Linked DNA regions of Homo sapiens: all the other regions are linked to region 1. The links are contacts of gene promoters, found by promoter capture Hi-C in human tissues and cell types (Jung and others, 2019). All regions are on one chromosome and are shown on one strand. Each heading gives the region's core, a stretch centred on a gene start or on the middle of the fragment in contact. The rest is flanking DNA. Distances are from core to core; before and after follow the strand shown.

Region 1 (2,898 bases), core at 264-2,763:
AGGTGTGAGCCACCATGCCCAGCCCAAAACATGAGTGTTTTATCTTAGATTGCAAATGCATTGCTTTGCTAAGCTTCACCACCAGTGCTCCGGGGGGCCTCCTAAAAGTCTGGCACCTGACTGGGGAGCAAGAGGGATGGAGGACAAAGCCTCATGAAAGGAGGAAAGCACCTGGGGGAGCAGAGGGGCAATAAAGAGACCCCTGCGGAATCATCTGAAATGGGAGTAGGATCAAGAGAGCTGTCTCCTGCTGCCTACTGATTTTCCACAATCTCTTCCCCTCTTGAAATAATGTCTTCCCCAAATACAACAGCCTTGCTGGGATGGGGTGAAGTGAAATTTCTGACAACTACTCGGGATCCTGAACTTGATGTTCTTACATATGTTCATCCCGTGTCATTTTCTGCACTTGCCTAGAAACTTCTCCAGTCATTAGTTTCTCTCCCTGGGGCTGGATTCCTGCATTGAAAGGCTAGGCCCAAAACAGGGATAAGTAGTCATCAGCAAGGCCACCGCACCAAGTAACAAGCAGGGCTTTAAGGTGACTAAGCAATAAGGTAAGGAACTGCATTGCATGAGGGGCATGTACATTACAAACGTGAATAGCAAGCGTGGGCAAACCAGGCCCGCTTTTGTATGTAAAGTTTTATTGAAACATAGCTACACCCATTTGGTAATATATCATTGGTGGCTGATTTCCAACTACAGTGGCAGAGTTCAGTAATTGTGTTTGAGGCCGTATAGACCACAAAGCCTAACATATTATTATCTGGCCCTTTTCAGAGAGAGCATGCCAGTCCGCTGTGTACAGCACTGTGTTAAGCTGTGAGGGACAGACAAACGAGGTTTAAGATGCAGAGCTAAGGCCAGGCATGGTGGGTGATACCTGTAATCCAAGCACTTTGGGAGGCTGAGGTGAGCAGATTGCTTGAAGCCAGGAGTTTGAGACTAGCCTGGGCAGCAAAGGTAGACCCTGCCTCTACAAAATATACAAAAATTAGCCAGGCATGGTGGTGTGTGCCTGTGGTCCCAGCTACTGGGGAGGCTGAGGTGGGAGGATCACTTGAGGCTGGGAGTTTGAGGCCATAGTGAGCCATGATTGTGACACTGCACTCCAGCCTGGGCAGCAGAGTGAGAGACCCTGTCTAAAAAAAAAAAAAAAAAAGAAAAGAAAAAAGAAAAAAAGATACAGAGCTTACAAATAGAGTTGGTTTCCATCCCCTGCCTTAGAATTTTACTGATCTCAAACAAGTCCAAAGAAAACCCGCAGCAATGATAACCCCAAGCATCATGTTCTACATCCTTCAAGAACCTGCCATTGCTGGTTCTCATAAGAGTAATTTAGGTCTTACTGAAAAGGCAGATTCCTGGTGCCTGCCCCAGAGGCTGACTTCTCAGTTGAGTCTGCGGAAGAAACACTGCTCCACTTAGTCGGTGACAGGCAGCTCAGGGGAGCGTCCTGCATCCCCTGAAGCCATGTCTGATTCTAACGAGGCGCGAGTAATCCTTTCCTAGCTCAAGAACATTTCTTTAGAGTGTTAGAGAAAGAAAAATTCTTAATCCTTTGTTTCTCACCACCTAGAGATGCTAGAATTCTACTTCTTGGCACTAAAAGCTGTATCATCCTGCATGCTTGTGTTCTGAGGCAGGTGATAACTGTCTTCTGGGGCTTAATACCTCTTGTTTTTTGTCTTTTCCCCTCAACAACCCTCCTCATTACACAACTTGGCCAGGGCCTCCTGTCCAAGTGAGAGCTCTTCTCTGAGGCGTCTGCAAACTTTATCACAAATTCCATTAATAAAGAAAGTTAAGCATGTATCCTCTTTAGATGTACATTGAGTTATAAATCATACTTCTGTACCTCAGTACTAATATGCTACATAAATTATCAACATACATAAAACTAAAATTTGAAAATTAATGACATAGAGGTGAAATTAACATTAAAAATTTATTAACAGCACATTTGCTATAGTCAAATTATTATTAATAAAATATTTTTGTAATAACATGATTTTATTATTTTTGAAAAATTTGGCTTAACACTTTGTGAATCAATAACTAAAGGGCTGTTTTCAAGGTCTATTTATTTCAATGTTCAGATTTAGTGACACATTTGAAATGAATTCTCATTAGAATATGTAGATCTAAGTAGAAGTTTATTGTTGGCTGCACCTAACTAATCGTTATATTTTCTTAAATTCCATCTGCCAATAATGCAAAGGTTTTGTTGAAATCTATTTTGAAGTTCATATAGTATTGCATTATACAGATACAACATAGCATACTTAGCCAATTTCATATTGATGCACACTTATTTTATTCTTCTATTGTAAACATATTACAACCAGTAATTTTGTACATATGTCATTTGTAACTTTACAAGAATATCTTGCTGGATCAAAGGGTATAATTTTGTAATTTTGCTAGATATTTGCCAAATTGCCTTTCACATGGGCTTGTATCAGGAAGATAGCACACTGTGTTATCAAATGTTTCAATATTTCTCAATATTAGAGATGAAACATAATTTTTCAGCAGAGTTTCAATTTCAACTTTCGTTATTTCAAGCTGCTTGAGGGTCTTTTTTATCTTTAGAAGCCATTAGTGGACTTCTTGTGAACAGTCTATAATATGAGAAAATGTATAGGTTTTTCCCTCAAACATCTTTTTCAAAATGCTTTGAAATAGGGATCTTACCAGTGAGAAAATAGAGACGGATTGTCTTTTTCTTTTTCAAAAATGCTTGCTTAGCAAGTTTTCAGATATGACGTAAATATACAAAAGCCATTTACAATCTTATATACTAGGAATAGAAAATAAGAGTTTGAAATAAAAAAAAATCCATTTACAATAGTACACAAATGCAAATGAAGTACTTAAATTTAAACCTAACAA
Region 2 (2,898 bases), core at 220-2,719, 86 kb after region 1:
AGAGCTTCAAAGCGAGCCTTGGCAATGTGATACAGATGGCAATGAGAAGCAGAGAAAAGCGAAGAGCCCCGGTTCTAGCCCAGGCGGGGCCCTCACCCTGGACTCGGGCCTGGTGTGACTGGAGTGGGAGAGGCTCATCTGCTAAGGGCACTGGGGACCTGGAGACTCCACCTTCAGTGTTCCTTGTCACTGATCGTGATTTTACTTGGGCAGGTTGTAGCTTAAGCTTCAGCTCCTTCACCTAGAAAGTGAGAGTGTTGGCCTTGAACCCTAGGTGATCTCAGTGACAACTCCAACTCTTCAGGTCCATTTACTCATTCATTAGTTTATTTGTTTAATCGGTAGTCACTGGGCTTAGGCCTATTAAATGAAGAGATTGGATTAGATATTTCCCTAGGCACCATTATTCTAGTTATTTCCTTCCTTCCTTTTTCCCTCCCTCCCTCCTTTCCTTCCTCCCTCCTTTCCTTCCTTCTTTTCCTTCCTTCCTTTTTTCTTTCCTTTCCTCCTTTTCCCTTCCTTCTTTTTTCCTTCCTTTCTTTTTTTTCTCTCCCTTTCTTTCTTTCTCTCTCCCTTTCTCTCTCTCTCTTTCTCTCTCCCTTTCTCTTTCTTCCTCGCTCTCTTTCTTTCTCTCTCCTTTTCTCTCTTTCTTTCTCTCTCATTCTCTTTTTCCCTCTCTCTTTCTTTCGAGACAGGGTCTTGCTTTGTTGCCCAGGCCAGAGTGCAATGGCACAATCATACCTCACTGCAGCCTTGAATTCTTGGGCTGAAGTGATCCTTCCACCTCAGCCTCCCAAACTGATGGAATTAGAAGCATGTGTCATCACACCAGCTAATTTTTTTTTTTTTTTTTTTTCAGAAAAGAATCTCATGTTGACTAGGCTGGTTTCAAACTTCTGGCCTCAAGCTATCCCCCTGCCTCAGCCTCCCAAAGTGCTGGGATTATGTGAGCCACTGTGCTCAGCCTAATTATTTTTTTTCTAGGTATCGAACAATCCCTTTTCCCACCTACAAATTCCTGGGCAGACAGCTGAATGCTGAATTTCAAAACTAGTTGCCCTTTTGAGTTAAACTGTTTCTTAAAAAAAAAAATTGTTTACGAGGAGGAGGGTACCTCACAAAGTACCCTCTACCTCAGTGGGCATTAGCTTATAACTTTAGTTCTGATGATAATGAAATTCTGAACAACTGTGCAAATCTAATGGGGGCAAAGAAGACAATGGAGAATGAGAGAACAGGAAAGCGTGGGCTCAGGAGGGATCCTGACTGTGTGCGAGTACTGGATGCTGGGAAAGAGAATTATTAGGACAGGCAGGACGTTGTGCAGGGCCTCGGATCCTGGGCAAAGTATAAGGCGTGGAAGCTCCATACTAATCTGAGAGTGTCTACGGCCAATCGCACTGACTTGGCAAAACAACTGAGGCCATTTTCCTGCATTTATTTCTGAATCAGAGAGTAATGTCATTTGCAAAGACTCATGGGCCTCATTTCTAGACAGGAAAAATCCCCCTTATTATCTTCTTAAATTATTTCCTGTAGGTTCCCCTCAAGTAAAACCACTAAGCTCCCGCTGATCCGGTTCCCACTGACACATGGGAGTGGTGCCCTCAGTAAAGGAAACTCAAGCCCCTAGAACTTGGCACAAAGTGATATGTGTTTCAGTTCAGGCTGGTTACACAGAAAATGAAGGCATTTTCCCTCCAAATCCTGAAAGGAAGGGGATATAGCGAGCTCATGGGGCCCTCTGCATCCCTCGAGGGGAGGTTGTTTACCTGCCCTTCTGGGCTTCGTGATGGAGTAAGGCTCGGTAGCTGAGCCGGACTCTCTCCATTCTCAAACTGCTTCAGGGCCATTGATGTGCATCCAGCCTGTTAGCTTTCTGGGATTAATAACATCTTAACATCTACTGTTGCCATAAGTTTGTAATTTGCGCTTTCAAAGACATTGATCTCATATGCATCTCATGTGCATTTCCTGTTTATTCCCTGTACATCTCATGTTCATCTCCTGGGCATGTACAGGAAAGGGACAGGGAGCAACAGCACAATTTGATGGCTGAGGAAACTAAGGCTCAGAGAGGCAGTGAAGTGACACCATAGGTTCACAAGGCTGGAAACAACAGGGACAGCTAAGGGGGAGGCTCAGGATGGCTGACCTCTGCAGAGGTTTTCATGGACCCCTGGGCCTTGTTAAACCATAAGTCCTTCAAGGGCCCCCCCGAGCTCCACGTGAGTCACAGGGCTCCTTCTGTGGAGGGTGGCTCCCCACTTGCACGTCATTTCTCAGATGCCAGAACAAAGCATCTTCTCACCAGAGCCCAGAATTCTAAGCTCCATTTGCCTTACGTGCCCAAGATTGTCCTGGAAAAGCTTACAGAACTCTAGGGAAAGAAGAGGCAGAGAGATGCTGTTAGGAGAAAAAGCAAGAGTGTCAAACACTGGACAGGGAAAAGTGGGGGAAATTCAGGGACGGCTGTCTGGAAGGGCCCCTAAGTAGTCCCAGAGTTTAGCAGGATGTGGTCCTGCCTCCTATCCCCAGTCCACACTCACCTTCCCCCCTTTCATAAAGCTCAGCACCATCAAATCAACACAGTGCATCTTCAGGGCATGTGCATAAATTGGGGAGCTCAGAGACCATCAGACGGAAGACCCAGGAAACAGTCTGAACCCATTAGTGCTAGAAAGCCAACACCATAACACCTTTCTACACAGATCCTGCAGAGAGAGCTTGCTCTTCCTTGGCTGCTCGGGCGAGCTGGGTGGGTTTGAAGTGGTGGCCTCCCCTCTCAAGGCTCCCTTTCCAGGGGACGTTGTACTTCTGTGACTGCTCTTCTTTCTCAGGGCTGCTTTTGATTTCTAGTTCCCTCTGCACAACACAAGTATCCAGGTTGCAGCACTT
Region 3 (2,898 bases), core at 165-2,664, 74 kb before region 1:
GTTTTAAAAGTTTAAGCAAGTTTTAAAAGGTTAATTGTAAAGAAAATTCTGTGTGTAAACATATTAGCTAAAGTTAAAAAGGTATCATCCAGTTTCTCTGTGAACTGGACATGAAAGTAAAAATGCAACAGGTTTTTTTTCTTAAAGCATCAACCTGCTCTTTAACAAAAATTATAAAAGGTTAAAAAGAGTCTATAAAATCTTACCTTATGGTCAAATATAAAAAATTGGATAAATATGTCTACAAGGTTTTATTAAAATTAAGTTTAATATTAATAACACACTAATATAATGGTAAAATTTAGCTTATCTGGTATAAAAATCATACAAGAAACATTATTAAATATAAAATGGTGTTTAGCTTTCTTTGGTCTAAAAACTAATAAAAATTGGTACAAAAGAAAACATTCATTTTACTAGAGGATCATAAAAGTTAAAGACTTAAAACAAACTTTGGCAATTAAGACAGCATACCAAGATGCAAATGCCTAGTTGAAATGGATCAAATATTCCATCTGCACATTAAACAAAAGCAATTGTTATGCTTGTGCACATGGCAGGCCAGAGGCCCTTATTGTCCCCCTTCCACTAAGGTGGTCCTCCAGTCCACCAGGCGTGGGCTGCATAGTAGCTCTTTTGCAGGATTCTACAGCCTGGAGTAACAAGTCATGCCAAGCTCTCTCTGCTATATCCCGAAGTCTGGCACCCTGCGGGTCAGCCCCCGAGGGCCGTCCAGCTTCCGTCTCCCAACACTAAGTTCACTTCGTGTCTCTCACGGTAGGGAGGAGACTTAGATTCCTTGGAGACCTGAAGGGATGCAGTGAGCTTAAGAATTTTCAAGAGCTTATCAGTCAGCCCTTGTTCATCCCCGAGTGGATGTGTGGTGGTATTGTGGTGGACCTTTACTGGGCACTCTGCTGAATAACTAGAGTGGCACTTGTGCTTTAGTCCATTTGGCTATCCCTTTCACCCTGGCATTTCATCAATCAGAGGAAGGAAAAAAATAATAAAAATAATAAGACATAGTAAAGCGAGAGAAGCCCCTTATGGGTCTTTCAACTCTCACATCTATTTAGATGCAATTGAAGCCCCGCAAGGAATACCAGATCAATTTAAAGCTTAAAATCAAATAGTTAGAAGATTTAAGTCAATATTTTGGTAGATGACAGTCAATAAAAATGTAGATTAGATAAACTACATCTATTACAACCAACAGCAACAAGCTTTTCATGAGTTTAAAAAAAAAAAACAAACTCATGTCGGCCCCAGCCCTGAGGCTACCTGACCTGACAAAACTCTTTACACTCTATGTGTCAGAAAGAAAACAAATGGCAGTTAGAGTTAACCTAGACTGCAGGGCCCTGGCCAAGGCCAGTGGCCTATCTCTCAAAACAACTAGACAGGGTTTCCAAAGGCTGGCCCCCATGTCCAAGGGCCCTGGCAGCAATGGCCCTGTTAGCACAAGAAGCAAATAAGCTAACTCTTAGGCAAAACCTAAACATAAAGTCTCCCCATGCTGTGGTGATTTTAATAAATACCAAAGGACATCATTAGCTAATAAATGCTAGACTAACTAGATACCAAAGCTTGCTCTGTGAAAATCCCCGCATAACCATTAAAGTTTGCAACACCCTAACCCCGCCACCTTACTCCTGGTATCAGAGAGCTCAGTTAAACATAACTGTGTAAAAGTATTGGACTCAGTTTATTCTAGTGGGCCCAACCACCGAGACCATCAGTAGACTGGGAGCTGCACGTGGATAGGAGCAGCTTCGCCAACCCCTGCAAAGTGACTCTGAAGAAGACGACAAGCCCTGCTCCAGTCACACCTGGAAGCTAACTGGTCCACACACGGCCGAAACATGAGGAAACTCATCACAGGACTCATTTTCCTTAAAATTTGGACTTGTATAGTAAGGACTTCAACTGACCTTCCTCAGACTGAGAACTGTTTCCAGTATATTCATCAAGTCACTGAGGTAGGACAAAAGATTGCTACAGTCCTATTATTTTATGGTTATTATAAGTGTACCAGGACTCTAAAAGAAACTTGTTTGTATAATGCTATCCTACCAAGGTATGTAGCCCAGGAAATAACCAACCTGATGCATGTTATGACCCATTTTAAGCATCCCATAATCACAGTTTTTAAAATGAAATTAAGGAGTGGTCCTTTTCTAGGTGACACAAGTAAGGTAATAGCTAGAACATAAAAAAAGAGGGGTCCCCAAAAATGTAACCTTAAAATTTGATGCTTGTGCTGCTACTGATAGTAAGCAGCATGGGAGAGGATGCAGTTCTCTAGATTAGAAAAAAAAAGGTACACCATAAAAAAATAAGTATATCTGTCAAAAATCATATTTATGTGAGATGTGTCAATACTGGTCTTGTGTCATTTGGACTACTTAAAAGGAAAATAAAAAAGATCCTGTTTGACTCCAAAAAGGAAAAGTCAGCCCCTCCTGCATGAATGGGAGCTGCAACCTTTTAGAATTGATCATCACAAACCCCTCAGACCCAAAGTAAAATAAAAGAAAAATATGTATCATTAGACATTGATGGAAAGGGACTAGATCCTAGGGTGTAAGCATCCTAATAAAAGGAGACGTTCAAAAACGTTCTCCAGAACAAGTATTTCAGACTTTCTATGAGGAACTAAATGTGCCAGTACCTGAAATTCCAGGAAAAACTAAAAATTTGTTTTTGCAATTAGCCGAACATGTAACCCAATCTCTGCAAGTCACCTCATTTTATGTTTGTGGAGAAACCATTAACAGGAAATCAATGGCCATGGGAAGCCCAAGAATTAGTTCCTACAGACCCAGTTCCTGATAAATTCCCAGCCCAAAAGAATCACCCTGATCATCTCTACGTTCTAAAAGTCTCAATTATTAGACA

Evidence for each region. The method cuts DNA at HindIII sites, captures the fragments that hold promoters and counts their contacts. A contact is called where the count stands out against the background at its distance.
Region 2: a fragment that was not itself captured here is called in contact with the fragment with the promoter of LYZL1 in region 1 in 4 of the 25 tissues and cell types used here (H1 embryonic stem cells, bladder, mesenchymal stem cells and 1 more).
Region 3: a fragment that was not itself captured here is called in contact with the fragment with the promoter of LYZL1 in region 1 in 2 of the 25 tissues and cell types used here (mesenchymal stem cells and thymus).

What each region holds. Positions count from the first base shown.
Region 1 is chr10:29,287,685-29,290,582 of GRCh38, reverse strand. LYZL1 (lysozyme like 1) reads right to left here and starts at 1,513. Exons shown (of 5, transcript NM_032517.6): 1 at 1,353-1,513. The HindIII fragment of the contact is 13,518 bases long and covers 1-2,898 here.
Region 2 is chr10:29,201,227-29,204,124 of GRCh38, reverse strand. No RefSeq gene overlaps it. Among named protein-coding and RNA genes, the nearest start is that of LYZL1, 86 kb to the left of the region's middle. The HindIII fragment of the contact is 4,604 bases long and covers 1-2,898 here.
Region 3 is chr10:29,361,974-29,364,871 of GRCh38, reverse strand. No RefSeq gene overlaps it. Among named protein-coding and RNA genes, the nearest start is that of SVIL-AS1, 46 kb to the left of the region's middle. The HindIII fragment of the contact is 4,134 bases long and covers 1-2,898 here.